Linked DNA regions of Homo sapiens: region 2 is linked to region 1. The links are contacts of gene promoters, found by promoter capture Hi-C in blood cells and fetal thymus (Javierre and others, 2016). All regions are on one chromosome and are shown on one strand. The core of a region is centred on a gene start or on the middle of the fragment in contact, and the rest is flanking DNA. Distances in the headings are between cores, read along the strand shown.

Region 1 (7,305 bases), core at 4,806-7,305:
GTCTCCCAAAGTGCTGGGATTACAGGCGTGAGCCACTGCGCCCAGCCGCATCTATTCTTTTAATTATCCTGTTCACAAGGCTCAGAGCCCACTCGATTTTTCTTATCCCCTAGCCCTTAAACATCACAATTCCTTAAATCATCTCCGCGTCAGGCTCCCTTTACCATCCACTTGATCTACCTCAAGCAGACCTCAAATCAGCCTCATTCTCCACCCCTAAAATACAGCTACAAGCATGTCTTTCTCCTAGTTGAAATTCACAATGCATTCCCTCTGCCCACCACATTAATTATCAACTCCTTTTCCTGGCATTTACTCATCCAACGCATGGCCCCACGTTAACTTTCAGTTCCCTTTCTCCCCTACAAATACTCCATAATCCAGCAACCCTGGGATTATTCCTGTTCCCTAAATGTCCTCAGCACTCTGCCACCCACCCAGTTTTTGCTTATACTGTTTGGTCAGCACTAGAGCAACCTTTCTTTGCCATGATAAGCTGTAGAAATTGTACTTATTCTTCAAATACTATCTTTTCTAATGACATTTTCTGTTCTCCCCCAAGTAGATAGGATCATTTTTTTTCTCAACAAAATTTAACTTATTTTTAGGTATAGTATTATAGTTTTTTTTTTTAATTTAGATTTAGGGGGTACATGTGCAAGTTTGTTACATAGGTATGTTGTGTGATACTGAGGTTTGGGCTTCTAATGATATCGTTGCCCAAATAGTGACCATAGTACTCGATAGGTGGTCTTTCAATCCTTGCCTCCTCCCTCCCTTCCCACTTTGGGAATCCCTAGTGTTTACTGTTTCCATCTTTGTGTCTGTGTATACTCAATGTTTAGCTCCCACTTAGAAGTGAGAACATGCAGTATTTCGTTTTCTGTTTCTGCATTAATTTGCTTAGGTTTATGGTTTCTACTTGTATCCGTGTTGCTACAAAGGACATGATTTCATTCTTTTTAATGCTTATGTAATATTCTACAGTGTATATGTACCATGTTTTCTTTATCCAATCCACTGTTAATGGGCACCTGAGTTGATTCCATGTCTTTGTTATTGTGAATAGCGCTGCAATGATTATTTCTCCACCTATGCTCTTTAGCATTTTATCCTATCTGTGCTACAGCACTCACTTACCACATTCTGCTATGTATTCCAACTCTTTACCTGCTTTCTAATCCTTATACAAAGCTATGAGATCCCTAGAGGCACAAAAAGCACCTTACTTACTGAAATATACTAAGAAACATTGCAGGCAGTGCAAAAAAATATGAATACATCTATCTGTTAAATGGAATATGAGGAAAGACCTGAGGGTGGGGGAAATGTACTATATTCATGGAAGAAGAAGGAGCTTAGGGTTCTACTGAAATTGCTGCTTGTGGGGAACAGTGGAAAATGAGGATAGATATATATACTTGACATAACTTCCAAAGGCCACTAGTTAACTATGATCCTCAACCTCCTCTGCAGGAAAATTTCTGTTTCCCTCATAGTCTTTATCACCAGTTGCAATCATTTTGTTTGTTCCTTTACGAGTATTGTCTCTCTGTATCATATACATATACGCAGACTCAACACTATGTTCCAAGAGGCTTTGGGCCATACCTGCTTTGGTCCCTTCCCCAGTGTCTACCAGACTGCCCGGCACATGGCAAATACTCAATAAGTATGTTTGGAGTAAAAGAATAAAAGTTGTGTATCACGATACCTTGTGAAGATTAAATGCAGTCATGTCTAAAGTGACTAGCACAATGCTTAAACATAATAAGCACCAGTAAATATTAGCCCCACACCTATATTTCTTCCTTCTATGAACTACTCATGTATTAATGTATATATTCGACAGATGTGCCTGGCTTTTCTCTAGCCACTGGAAATACAATAGTCAACAAAAGAGAGAAAAATTCCTACCTGCCCTTAGGGAGATTACATTCCAGTGAGGAAATGAGCAATTCCTGCCAAGAAGTTTAAAGAAGGAAGTTTTTGGCCAAATGTGGAGGCTCACACATTTAATCCCAACATTTTGGGAGGCCAGTGCTGGAGGATTGCTTGAGCCCAGGAGTTCAAGACCAGCTTGGGCAACATAGCAAGACCCTGGCTCTACAAAAAATAAAAAGTTAGCTGGGCATGGATGGCACTCCCAGCTTCTAGGGAGGCTGAGGCAGTAGGAATACTTGAGCTCAAGAGTTAAGAGGCTGCAGTGAGCTATGACTGCGCCACCGCACTCCAGCCTAGGCAACAGAGCAAGCCTTTGTCTCTCTCTCTCTCTCTCTCTCTCTCTATATATATATATATAAGTTTTAAAGAAAAAGGGGTGATGGCTTGAAGATAGATGCATTGGTGGCAGAAAAGAAAGCATGGAGGGGCCGGGCGCAGCGGCTCACACCTGTAATCCCAGCACTTCGGGAGGCCAAGGCGGGTGGATCACGAGGTCAGGAGATTGAGACCATCCTGGCTAACACGGTGAAACCCCGTCTCTACTAAAAAAATACAAAAACTTAGCCGGGCTTGGTGGCGGGCGCCTTTGGTCCCAGCTACTGGGAAGGCTGAGGCAGGAGAATGGCGTGAACCTGGGAAGCGGAGCTTGCAGTGAGCCGAGATCGCGCCACTGCACTGCAGCCCCGGGGGACAGAGCGAGACCCCGTCTCAAAAAAAAAAAAAAAAAGAAAAGAAAGAAAGCAAGAAAGCATGGAGGAACGGAAGCCAATTGCAGTATTGCAGGAAGGAGGTATGAAATGGCTTGGATCTGAGTGACAGCAACGTAACAGAGGAGTGGATCCAGGAAGAGCGGGGCATGATACCCATTGGATCTGAGATGGAAGAGTTAGTTAGGAAGTGGCAATGATGAAAGTTTCCAATCTTGTTGTTTTGCTGTATTGCCCTGAATAGACAGGGAAGCTGGCAGGGGAAGCGATGGTGGTTCATGGGCTTTAGGGCGTGAGACGAGCTAAACCCAGTCTTGAATGTGATTCCTCCTAAGAGGCAAAATGGAATCTAAATGAAAATTTTTAACTCACTAATGAAAGTAATGTTTTAGAATGCAGGTGAAAACAAATCTCCCTTCTTACATAGTATGATCACTGTTACGTCATTTGATTTTGTTTTTTACATCATTTTACATCGTAAACATGGTGTTATAGCTGTCTGCCAAATTCCTCTAAAAATATGCCCCTTCGCAGCAAGATCTGTGTTAATCATCCCATCTCTTCAGTTCCTGGAACACAGTAGGTCCCTAAATGATAAGTCCAGCACTTAATATTTGTGAATTGAACTGGTTGATAGTAAGCAAAATTTTGTTATCAAGGCAAACAGAAAAGAGAAGTGCATTTAGAGTCAGAAAGGCCTCGATTCAAATTCTTGTCCCCTTCTTCCCACCCCTGCTAGTCATACAACCACAAGAAAATTGCTAGCCTGCATCTTAGGCTCCTCATTAGTGAAATGGATGATCAAGTCTATCTTGCAGGAGGGTGTGAGTGCATCAAGTTAAATTAAATATATACACAGTGTCTGTCATTCAGTTGGCATCGACATTACCTATTATACTATTTATTATTATTACCTGTATTTCCATGGATTTTAGGTTTTGCTATGGTTTTCATGCTCTCAGTGTACCCTCCTTCTTCTTTCTAACATTCCATCCAAACAGTCCTGCTAGATGCTGTTCTCTTGGCATGGCTAGCCAGCTTTCCCAAAGCCTCCATAGGCCACTAAGCTTCTGTCCACACGGCTGGCTGGTCCGTCAGTTTAAGTCACCCAATTCAACTGACATCATGACAGCTTGCAAATTCCAAAATCACTGTTGGTAATTTAGATGTGGTAGTGTTTATGCCTGGCCTATGAATTATACCACCACGTCTTTATTTATATGCAACTTGCATCATGCTGTGTTGAAAGCAGCTTCCCAGTCCAGCACTTGAAAATACTTCTCAGATAGGTTTTCATAGCAATTAAAAAATAAACACAAAACCCGGGAAAGCTATGTCTGTGTACCCAAAAGATACCTAAGAACACAGTAGCATAGAGAGCAGGCTGAGTTGTCTCACTCAAGGATGTGAGTTCAGATTCATTGATCTCCCTGACTGAAAACTATCACCCATTGATTGAGGCACTGTATATCTTATCTCAGAATGAAATGAATTCTTAAGTCTCATGAATTCTACATGAATGAATGAAAGTGTTTCTGCAACTTTCACTTCTCTTGCAGCCCACCAAAAACAATGGCATTTTCTAATAGGAAAAACACATTGAACGCTGTATATGTGCGTATGTATATGTGTGTGTAGTACATACATATACTTTATTTTGAGACAGGTTCTCACTCTGTTGCACAGGGTGGAGTGCAGTGGTGTGCACAGCCTACTGCAGCCTCAATTTCCCAGGCTCAAGCAATCCCCCTGCCTTAGTCTCCCAAGTAGCTGGGACCACAGGTGTGCACCATCACGCCTGGCTTTTTTTGGTTTCATATATATATGTTGCCTAAGCTGGTCTCAAACTCCTGATCTCAAGCAATCCTCCTGCTTTGGCCTCCCAAAGTGCTGGGACTACAGAACACCTACACTTTTATACATTCTATATGCATCAAACAAACATATGTCTGTGACAAGAGAGCAGCCTATCACAGCCCAGAGACTTCAGAATGGGGACAGGTTGGAAGGAGGAGCTACCTATCCCTGAGATGATGAAGAGGACCAGTGCCCATTCCAGGAGACATCACCGCAGCCCTGAGGAATCGGCTATGGGCACCAGCAGGGCACAGTGCCACACCTCGCCAATGCCTTGTCCTCCTTTTCCATAGTGAGTCAGTCAGCAAGCGTCGCATTGCCCTGGGATCGGCACTGCACGTAGAAGTGAGTTCCACACTCTCTTCCTCCCATAGGGAGATCACTTTTCTCATTCTAAGGGTTCCAGGCACACTCACAATGGTGGCATTTGCTGAGCAGTGGCTTGAATAAAGGGCTCTCAGAAAGCAAGATGTAACTCAGAGCATAGGCTTGTCCTCCAGGGCACCCAGCCCCAGGAATGCTCTTGGGGAATGACCTGCAGCCTCCCAGTGAAAGAGAGAATAAAAGAAAGCCCCAGCAGGCGAGCTGGGCAGTAGAGAGTCCTGTAATTCCACCTTGGCAAGCACCATTTGCAAGAACGAACTGGGATAAGGTAAACAAAATATTGCCTAAAAGAGGCTTGTCCAAAGAAGTCAGAATACGCTCTTCATTTACCTCTAAATTATGTTTCTTAAATACCAAGTAACCTGCAGTACCCCCTGCCGCCACCAAAAAAAAAGAGAGAAATACTTTTTTTTCTCCTATCCACTGCAGAATCAATTTTACAGTGGTTCTGCAGTTAATCCTTTCAGTACACCATAAATCTAAATACTCAAAAAAACCTGTGCCTTTTCAATTGCTACTAAATCACGAGAAGACTGATTTACATAGTCTCCTTTTATCTCCCTTGGCGGGTAAGTACTCAGCTCTGCTCGTTACTAATATTGAAACAACAGCCCTTGAATTGAGTGATTTCCCTAGAAAGGTTAAGGTGACCGAATCTGAACACTCCCTCCATGTCTTGGACACGAAGTTTTTTGCTGCGTAGACAGTTTTATCCCCCTCACCCCAAGGTCAATTGCACGAATTCTTTTGGAAAACAGGACCTATGGCATTTCCCAGACAAATCACCGTGAACCCTGTACTGTGCATTGCTGTCCTAAAATTAACACATAAATCTATTGCCGCCAAAGATTCTGTCATTTGTGTTACATAATTGCCTTTCATTTGAACTCATTAATCAAATTGGGGTTTTTAAGCAACACCTAATTAATTCTTTAACTGGCTCATATTATACCTTTAATGACTTCCACCAGGGTAAAAACCACTGATCACTGAGTTCTATTTTGAAACTACGGACGTCGAGTTTCCTCTTTCACCCAGAATTTTCAGATCTTGTTTAAAAAGTTGGGTGTGGTTTCATGGGGGGAGGGGGAAGAGCGAGAGGAGACCAGAGGGACGGGGGCGGGGACTCTGCAAGAAAAACCTTCCCGGTGCAATCGTGATCTGGGAGGCCCACGTATGGCGCCTCTCCAAAGGCTGCAGAAGTTTCTTGCTAACAAAAAGTCCGCACATTCGAGCAAAGACAGGCTTTAGCGAGTTATTAAAAACTTAGGGGCGCTCTTGTCCCCCACAGGGCCCGACCGCACACAGCAAGGCGATGGCCCAGCTGTAAGTTGGTAGCACTGAGAACTAGCAGCGCGCGCGGAGCCCGCTGAGACTTGAATCAATCTGGTCTAACGGTTTCCCCTAAACCGCTAGGAGCCCTCAATCGGCGGGACAGCAGGGCGCGGTGAGTCACCGCCGGTGACTAAGCGACCCCACCCCTCTCCCTCGGGCTTTCCTCTGCCACCGCCGTCTCGCAACTCCCGCCGTCCGAAGCTGGACTGAGCCCGTTAGGTCCCTCGACAGAACCTCCCCTCCCCCCAACATCTCTCCGCCAAGGCAAGTCGATGGACAGAGGCGCGGGCCGGAGCAGCCCCCCTTTCCAAGCGGGCGGCGCGCGAGGCTGCGGCGAGGCCTGAGCCCTGCGTTCCTGCGCTGTGCGCGCCCCCACCCCGCGTTCCAATCTCAGGCGCTCTTTGTTTCTTTCTCCGCGACTTCAGATCTGAGGGATTCCTTACTCTTTCCTCTTCCCGCTCCTTTGCCCGCGGGTCTCCCCGCCTGACCGCAGCCCCGAGACCGCCGCGCACCTCCTCCCACGCCCCTTTGGCGTGGTGCCACCGGACCCCTCTGGTTCAGTCCCAGGCGGACCCCCCCCTCACCGCGCGACCCCGCCTTTTTCAGCACCCCAGGGTGAGCCCAGCTCAGACTATCATCCGGAAAGCCCCCAAAAGTCCCAGCCCAGCGCTGAAGTAACGGGACCATGCCCAGTCCCAGGCCCCGGAGCAGGAAGGCTCGAGGGCGCCCCCACCCCACCCGCCCACCCTCCCCGCTTCTCGCTAGGTCCCTATTGGCTGGCGCGCTCCGCGGCTGGGATGGCAGTGGGAGGGGACCCTCTTTCCTAACGGGGTTATAAAAACAGCGCCCTCGGCGGGGTCCAGTCCTCTGCCACTCTCGCTCCGAGGTCCCCGCGCCAGAGACGCAGCCGCGCTCCCACCACCCACACCCACCGCGCCCTCGTTCGCCTCTTCTCCGGGAGCCAGTCCGCGCCACCGCCGCCGCCCAGGCCATCGCCACCCTCCGCAGCCATGTCCACCAGGTCCGTGTCCTCGTCCTCCTACCGCAGGATGTTCGGCGGCCCGGGCACCGCGAGCCG
Region 2 (7,305 bases), core at 1,338-3,837, 1.4 Mb before region 1:
TATAGAAAACAGATACTGGCAAATAAATAATTCTAATATTTATCCTACTAGAAATCTTCATATTTGTTTAGGTCACAGAAACATTAAGCTAAAATGATTTTTTTTCATTGTAATGATGAAAAAGCTTTTTAATGTTTTTGAAAAGCGTATCTGGGTAGTTAATTAAGGACTCAGCATAGTTTATACATTTACAAACTATTTTAATTTAAAGGCAAATTAATCCTGAAGCAATGGATTTAAAATTTATGTTTAAGTAGCGCATTTCTATGTAAAACTAAGAACCTTTCCACAGTATGAACAGACTTAAAGTGGCAATGTGTCCACAGAGTAAGTATTTTAAATGTTCCAATGTTACTTACTGAATTAATGCATGAAATCGCTCAAAGCCAAGCTCTTCGACAGCCAAGGCAGCTATACATAAAAGACACTTTTCAGCACTACACATGGCAAATAAATGACACAAGATACACACAGCAGGCTGTAAATACTTTCAAGCAATCAAAACTTTCCCTATTTCCTTACTCCCTTAAAATTCTCAGTTTATTTTCAACTTCATTATAACATGAATTTATATTTCAACATCTTTATTATGAATATAACTAAAATCGATATAATACTGAGAATATAGAAGGGTGATTAAATAACATTTCAGTTCAGCTATGCTACGGCAGTTATAAAGTATGAAAAATTACTGATAATCAGTGCCTCACATATCATAATGTGTCCTGCACTTTTAAATAATCTTTCAGATTATATAAATCCAAGTAATATCATCAGAGCTAACCTTCCTTTTTATAATATAAAATCTTTAGGTTTAAGGCTTAATTATTAAACAAACATGTATAAAAAGGCATAACACTTTCAAACTACACAGGTTCAATGACAGCTTTAAGTTTGTTTCCTCATTTATTTGTATAACTGTTAAAAAGTTTTCAGTAACTTATTTAGATTATGTTTATTAATCAAAGGAAATAGAAGAAAGCATTTTAATCAGAGGTAATGTTTATTGAGCACTTTACTAAGTGCCAGGCCCTTTTCTAAATGCCCTACATGTCTTACCTCATTTAATCCTCATATAAACCCTCTTAGCTCCATTTTACAGAAGAGGAACCTGAGGCACACAGAAAAATCCTCTCAAGAGTACATAGGATTAAACAGCAGAGATGAGACTTGAGCACAGATAGTCTTGGCTCCAGGGAGTTATTTATCACAATGAATAACTTCACATATATTTCATAAAGCAAATCTTACTACTATCAAATATAAATTCTCACTGGTGAGTTAAGAAAATTGATTCATTATGAAGTCAAAATTTTAGATTTTTATTTACAATTTAAAATGTCACATTATGCTAGCTTTCCAAAGCCTAGTTGTGAGTGTTTCATATTTCGTTTTAAAATCTTTAGCAGTCCAAATGTATTAAGTTATTTCTTGGTTTATGTGGGAAACAAACTGAAATTGAACCTGAGTATTCACTACTGCGAACAACTGTGCATTACCAACAAGCCAAAACTATACACACCACATAAGCCAATGAAATTAATGTTTGTAGAGAAAGTAATATTAACAAGAGGGGAAAACACTTTACATTAAAACTTTCAGAAAATGAAAATTCTACCTAATCTTTTCCAAATTATACTGCTTGTTCTGCAACATTAGATTATCTAAATAGTTTTACTGGGTATACTACAAGAGTAGACATAAAGATAATAATTTAGAGAAAAGAGGCAAGCAAAATAAAAAGCTTAGCAGGCAGGGATGGTGAAAAAATATAAAACACAAGAAAAAGAACAAAGCTGGGAATAAAGGAAAGAACAGGTAAAATAGATTGTTACACGGAATAAAAATTGTAATATAAATACAGTTCATTTGTCACTAAGGTAAATTCTCAAATTTTCAGTTAACAAAGTATTTCAAATGTATACATTATTTAAAAAATTTAAAATATGGTTTACTTCATGGCAACTTTTAAAATGAGATACAAAGTAAACTGGAAAAATTACTAAAATGTTTTCTGGAGGGTAATTCAATATAATATGCCCATCTAAATTAGTTACTGAAGTACCAAAGGGAATGCATTATAAGGCCCTTTAACCTATAGCAACGTGACGTATCACCACAGAACTGCATAGCATATTTCATAGTATGCACTCAGTATACTGTTAAGATACTAATGGAAAATGTTATATAAAAAGATCTTACTATTTTCTCACATCAATATACAGACTGGCTTTAAGCACAAAATCTTTAAAATACCTTTTCAAAAGATCAACAATTCCTCTTTCAAAATTTTAATATCCTAAATGAACCTATTAAGTGTGCTAACACCCACACAGTAAAACCTGGAGAATATGTTAAAACCAATCTTAGTGACACTTTGGACTAGCATCCTTGTGACTGTTTTCCACTTGTTGTCTTCAAATGTCATTATAAACTCTAAAATATGTTAAGTTCTTTTTGAAAGGCCATATTTCAAAGGCTTCAAAAGGAAGCATCATATAGCTGTTCAAATGTTCAAAATTATTCCTTGCAAATGTTACTACTATTAGAATTTGCCAGGCTTAAGGCATTTTAACTGCAGAGGTAGGAGAAAAAAGACACTGACAACACAGAGGCATTTTAGTCCAGGGAGGCAACAGCACCTTATAGATAATACTATATGGAAAGCAAAATGTGTATCCCATACAATTGAAGTGTACTTTCAGGTACGTAATCTCTTTACGAAAACTTTCCACAAAGATGATAGTTAATGTGATGCTCTGTGGGTAGAATAAGTCACTTATTTAACATAAGCACTTGGGACTACCAATTATAAAAAACCATCAACTAGCAAGATTATTCCTGAAAAGCAAATCAGAAAAGCAACTCTTAACTAGCTTCCGTACCACTAGCTGTCTCCATTTCACACTGGCAGCTTTCGGGTCAATTACATAACAATTTTCAAAAGTTAAAAACCACAGAATATATAATTTTTATGAATAATGAGAATAGCTATTATTTAACGTAAACAGCTATTATTTAACTTATCTTCAAGGTATGAAAAACTTAAGGCATAATTAAAATTGCCTTAAAATAATCTATATGTATAAAAATATCCAAATAATTCGGAAAGAAAAGAAACAGCTTGCAATGAGGAGAAATGTCCCCATCTTTGCTCTGGGAAGCAAGTAAAGATAACTTTATGAAATCTTCTGATGTCCAAAAAAATCCGTTTTTGCAATACCAAAGCAAAACATTAAGGCATCTGAAACTGAAGCATATCATTATTTCTAAATAAGAGTTCTAAAGCTCAAAAGAGATTATTATCAAGCAGAAGTTAACCAGAACATTTTTAAAAGTTTAAGAGATGCATTTTTTTTTGCAAAAATGTAGTATCTTCTAAGTAGTTAAAATAAATGATATGGAAATAAAAAATAGTGAGGCTCAGTAATTAAGCTTAAGCTGGAAAAGAATACATGTTATGAAAATTTTAAGTAATTTTTTCTTCAAAATATTCAATAGATTCATTAAAACAAAGGAACAAGAAAAAAACTTCAGGAAATAAAAATATATCTTACAAGAATGTTCCACTTGGCAACTAGACTCTGCAGGACTCCCAGAAATACTAGCAGTTTCCTCAGTTGTCTTTCCTCTTAACCATGAAACCAAGCAGTATGATCCAGAGTGGTCACAACAAGCACTTTCTAAAATATCACACAAGGTATGACAAAGGAGTTCCTTCTGCTCTTCCTCTAAAAATAACCAAAGCATAAGTTATAATGGTTTCCTCTGGAAAAAAAAAAATTCTGTCATGAATAACAATAGTAAGAATGGGTTAATGATGAAAATCAAGCATTTTAAAAATGGGGGAAAAATCTCTAAATAGATTTTAAATTATGTCTTAGAAAAACAATGTGTTTGTGGATTAAAATATCACCACTTTAAATAAAGCCATCCAAATAACACCACCAAGTAGAAAAAGAATACTGAAAAATGCAGAACTAAACATTATGAAAGATCATAATGTGACACTGATCATCACTTTCTTAAAACTTTAGCAACTGCAGCATTTAAGCCAAGAGGTTTCCTCTACTGAAGAACTGAGCACAATGTAAAGGCCTGTTGAAACCTCTATTTTTTTTCCCTCACATCTGAATTAATCTAACGTCTATGATCACCCCGTCCCAAAGGGATAAGAATAATGAGATGAGAGACCGTCAGCACATATGTTACCAAAGTCCATTACATCAGCAGAAGCCAGTGGTTAGAATACAGATTTGAGCATTAGAATTTTATAGAAAATGGCGCAAATGCTCAGACCATCTCTTTATGAACCTTAGCCACACTCTTTTCAAGCAGTATTACTCTCAAGAAGTAGTATTACTTTCTGAAACTTTCAAAAATTTTATGATACAAGGAGGTTTCTGTCTCTCCTAATGGATTAACAGTTCTTTAACTGCAGGAACTATGCTGTTCACTTTCTAATCACCACAGTATTTATGACACTTATGACAATGCTTTACAAATGTTTTATCAAAGTGAATATAGTGAATATAGTATAAGAAATAGTATAAATTTTATTAAAAGTTCATTTCAAAAATAGTATCTCAAATAGTTTCTTCTCTACTAAAATTTGTTTTGTATTTCACCTATTAATTTAAAACTTATGGAAGTGATCCCTTAACTCTTAAATTCAAAATCATTAGTAGATTCTATAGTCATGGTTTGGAATGTAAGCTGTTACATCCTTAGATACAAAACTGGGATTGTAATGTGTCCTAACTTCTTCCAGAATTTACTGTGAGGTTCACAGGAAATTGTGTAAGTGAAGGAAAGATCTTTGTAAACTGTCACGTGGAATGCAAATTCTTGTTATTATAAGGTGGCACCACACATCTCTCTGGGTACAGAAGCTCATGTTACAGAAGCTATGACAGCTTCATTTGCAATTTCATCCAAAATTATTTGCAGTATTTGCATTGTGTAAGGCATTATACTAAAACATGCAGGAATATAATGATAATTCTGAGGTCTTGCCCACAGCTAAATAAGACTACAAAAAAAAAAAAAAAAAAAAGACTGTTCTTTATGGCATGCTGCCACCTAACAGTTCTAGGAAATGCACCGTGTTTTACCAAGAGGCCAAACGTTTTTCCCTTAGTTATACCATCATGTCTTATAACCCCTGGTTAGAAAGCCAAATTTGGAAATATGGAGTCACTGTTCATGAAACTTTCTAAAACATTTTAAAAGGAAACCTCAGGAAAAAAAATTCCCACTGATACTTGACTTTCTCAGATAATTTTAGATCATCTCTATTAAAACAGAGGAGGAAGCAAAAGTTTTAAAAGACAGCTATCATACCTGAACAATCCCGCCAAGAAGACTTCTCCGAAGAAAACAGGAGCTTCTTCAAAAGAAATGCCTTTACACAATTAAAGCAATAATTAGTGAAATGCATTATAACCATACATCATATCATTCTTCAATTTTAAAGTGGGAAAAAATAATGTGTACTCCCTTTCTAATCTTTTGACTAGTTCTGTAAAGATGTCAAATGGGTTCCCCTCACATTTGACAGGAACTGTGCAGTTATTTATTCAGAGTATACTGCTATAAACTTGATTCTAGATTCATAAAATTCTTCTTCTTCCACAATACATATTTTCTGACAAGTAGAAGAACTAACTCACATAACAGAATAACTGAAAAGCACACAAACTTACTGCTCTATTCACAAAGTGAAAGCCCTGTAGAACACGAACAAGTCTACATTTCATTTAGATTCCTTCAGGTAAAAGAAATCTAAATATAAAAGTGGTTCTGTTCCCTTAGTCTTCATCTGTGACACAAGATTAACACTATTAGAGTCATCACTTTATTATCAGGAGCTCAAGTTTAACTCAAAAAGGTACAAGATTCAGAAGAAAAGACAAATGGATTTCTAAACTTCCCCTTAAGCGAGTCAACGATGTTACATTGGTTATTTGATAAAAAGCTGCACAGTGAAGTGTCTACTTCTCAAAGTGTAGTTCAACGGTAGCTATATCCCAGTCACCTGACTTGTTTAAATTGCAGTTTCTTGGGCTCCACCTATTCTCTCTGAATCTCTAGAGGGCAGGTCCAAGAAAAAACAGGTTACAATGACGACTTTTCCTCACCTGTGTTTGAAAGTATTAGTGTACAGATTAGGAAGACTGCTTTTTATCAGGCAAACTTAGGTTTGAATCCTGGCTCCACTATTACTAACTAAAAATAACTGTACAAACTTTAAAAGTTTGCAGCGAAGATTATATGAGAAAATCTATGTAATGCACTTAGCACAGTACCTGGCACCAATAAACAATTCAAGGTGTTACAACAAAAAACTAAGTCATATTCCATTTACATAGGCATAAAGTCTACAAATATGCTAATCAAGCGCTTCTGATTTTTCCGCAAAAGGGCAACAACCATCAAGTAGAAAAGTATAACTACATCACAACATTTGAGAAGTGAGATGGGGATATTCATTATTTCACAGCCAATATAACTACTGTTAGCATTTTGACATGCTTCCTTCCCATCTTTTTTAATATCTAGTTTTAATTTTATTACAAGTGAAAAATCATAATGGGTATATGAATGTATTTTCTGTTTTTCTACAGAATTCGTAAGCATAATTCTTAATCACTACTTGTCTATCAAGCTATTTATCAAAGTTTACTTATTATTTAAATTACATTATTGTGCATTAGGTTGCTTGCAATTTTTTTGCTACTTTAACATATAAGCTCCTTTTTAAATACAACTTTTTCCATATTAAATATTTCTTTAGAAAAGATTCACAGAAACACAACTATTACATCAGAATCTGCACTGTCATGGTTCCAATTATAATTTAAAATTCCTACCCACAAATTTGTACTATATAGCAGTATATGAGTGTGCCAGCATCTTCCCACCCTTACATGCACTGGCAATTGTAATTTTATTTTTAAAGATGACAAAAAGTAAGAAATAGAACCTAGTTACAGTTTTATTTTTACTTTCCTGGCTTCCTAGTGAGGGTGAGCATCCTGATTATTTGGCTGTAAAGCATCATTCCACCTGTTATGACTGCACATCTATGCCCATTTCACCCCTGAATCTTAGTGTTTTTCTAATTAACTTCTCCAAGTTATTTATATAAGAAAGACAATATCCCTTTATTGCTAATATTTACTGCAAATATTTCTTAGTTTGGAAGTCTCTGTTTCTCTTAGAGTGTTGATGATACATTAAGTTTCTTATTGTTAAATATTATTCCAAGGATACATTTGATATATGGTACAAAATTATCTAAAC

What was found. The method cuts DNA at HindIII sites, captures the fragments that hold promoters and counts their contacts. A CHiCAGO score of 5 or more calls a contact.
Region 2: a fragment that was not itself captured here is called in contact with the fragment with the promoter of VIM in region 1 in 3 of 17 cell types (M0 macrophages, total CD8 T cells and naive CD8 T cells); the score reaches 7.1 in M0 macrophages.

What each region holds. Positions count from the first base shown.
Region 1 is chr10:17,222,186-17,229,490 of GRCh38, forward strand. VIM (vimentin) reads left to right here and starts at 6,056. Exons shown (of 10, transcript NM_003380.5): 1 at 6,056-6,339; 2 at 7,091-7,305. The coding sequence starts at 7,238. VIM-AS1 (VIM antisense RNA 1) reads right to left here. Exons shown (of 3, transcript NR_108061.1): 1 at 7,160-7,305. RefSeq lists a silencer at 4,535-4,749. The HindIII fragment of the contact is 5,594 bases long and covers 3,717-7,305 here.
Region 2 is chr10:15,837,869-15,845,173 of GRCh38, forward strand. It overlaps MINDY3 (MINDY lysine 48 deubiquitinase 3), which reads right to left. Exons shown (of 15, transcript NM_024948.4): 3 at 5,344-5,404; 4 at 3,558-3,731; 5 at 360-411. All of the region lies in intron 2 of LOC124902383 (a long non-coding RNA gene), which reads left to right. Among named protein-coding and RNA genes, the nearest start is that of MINDY3, 19 kb to the right of the region's middle. The HindIII fragment of the contact is 1,691 bases long and covers 1,743-3,433 here.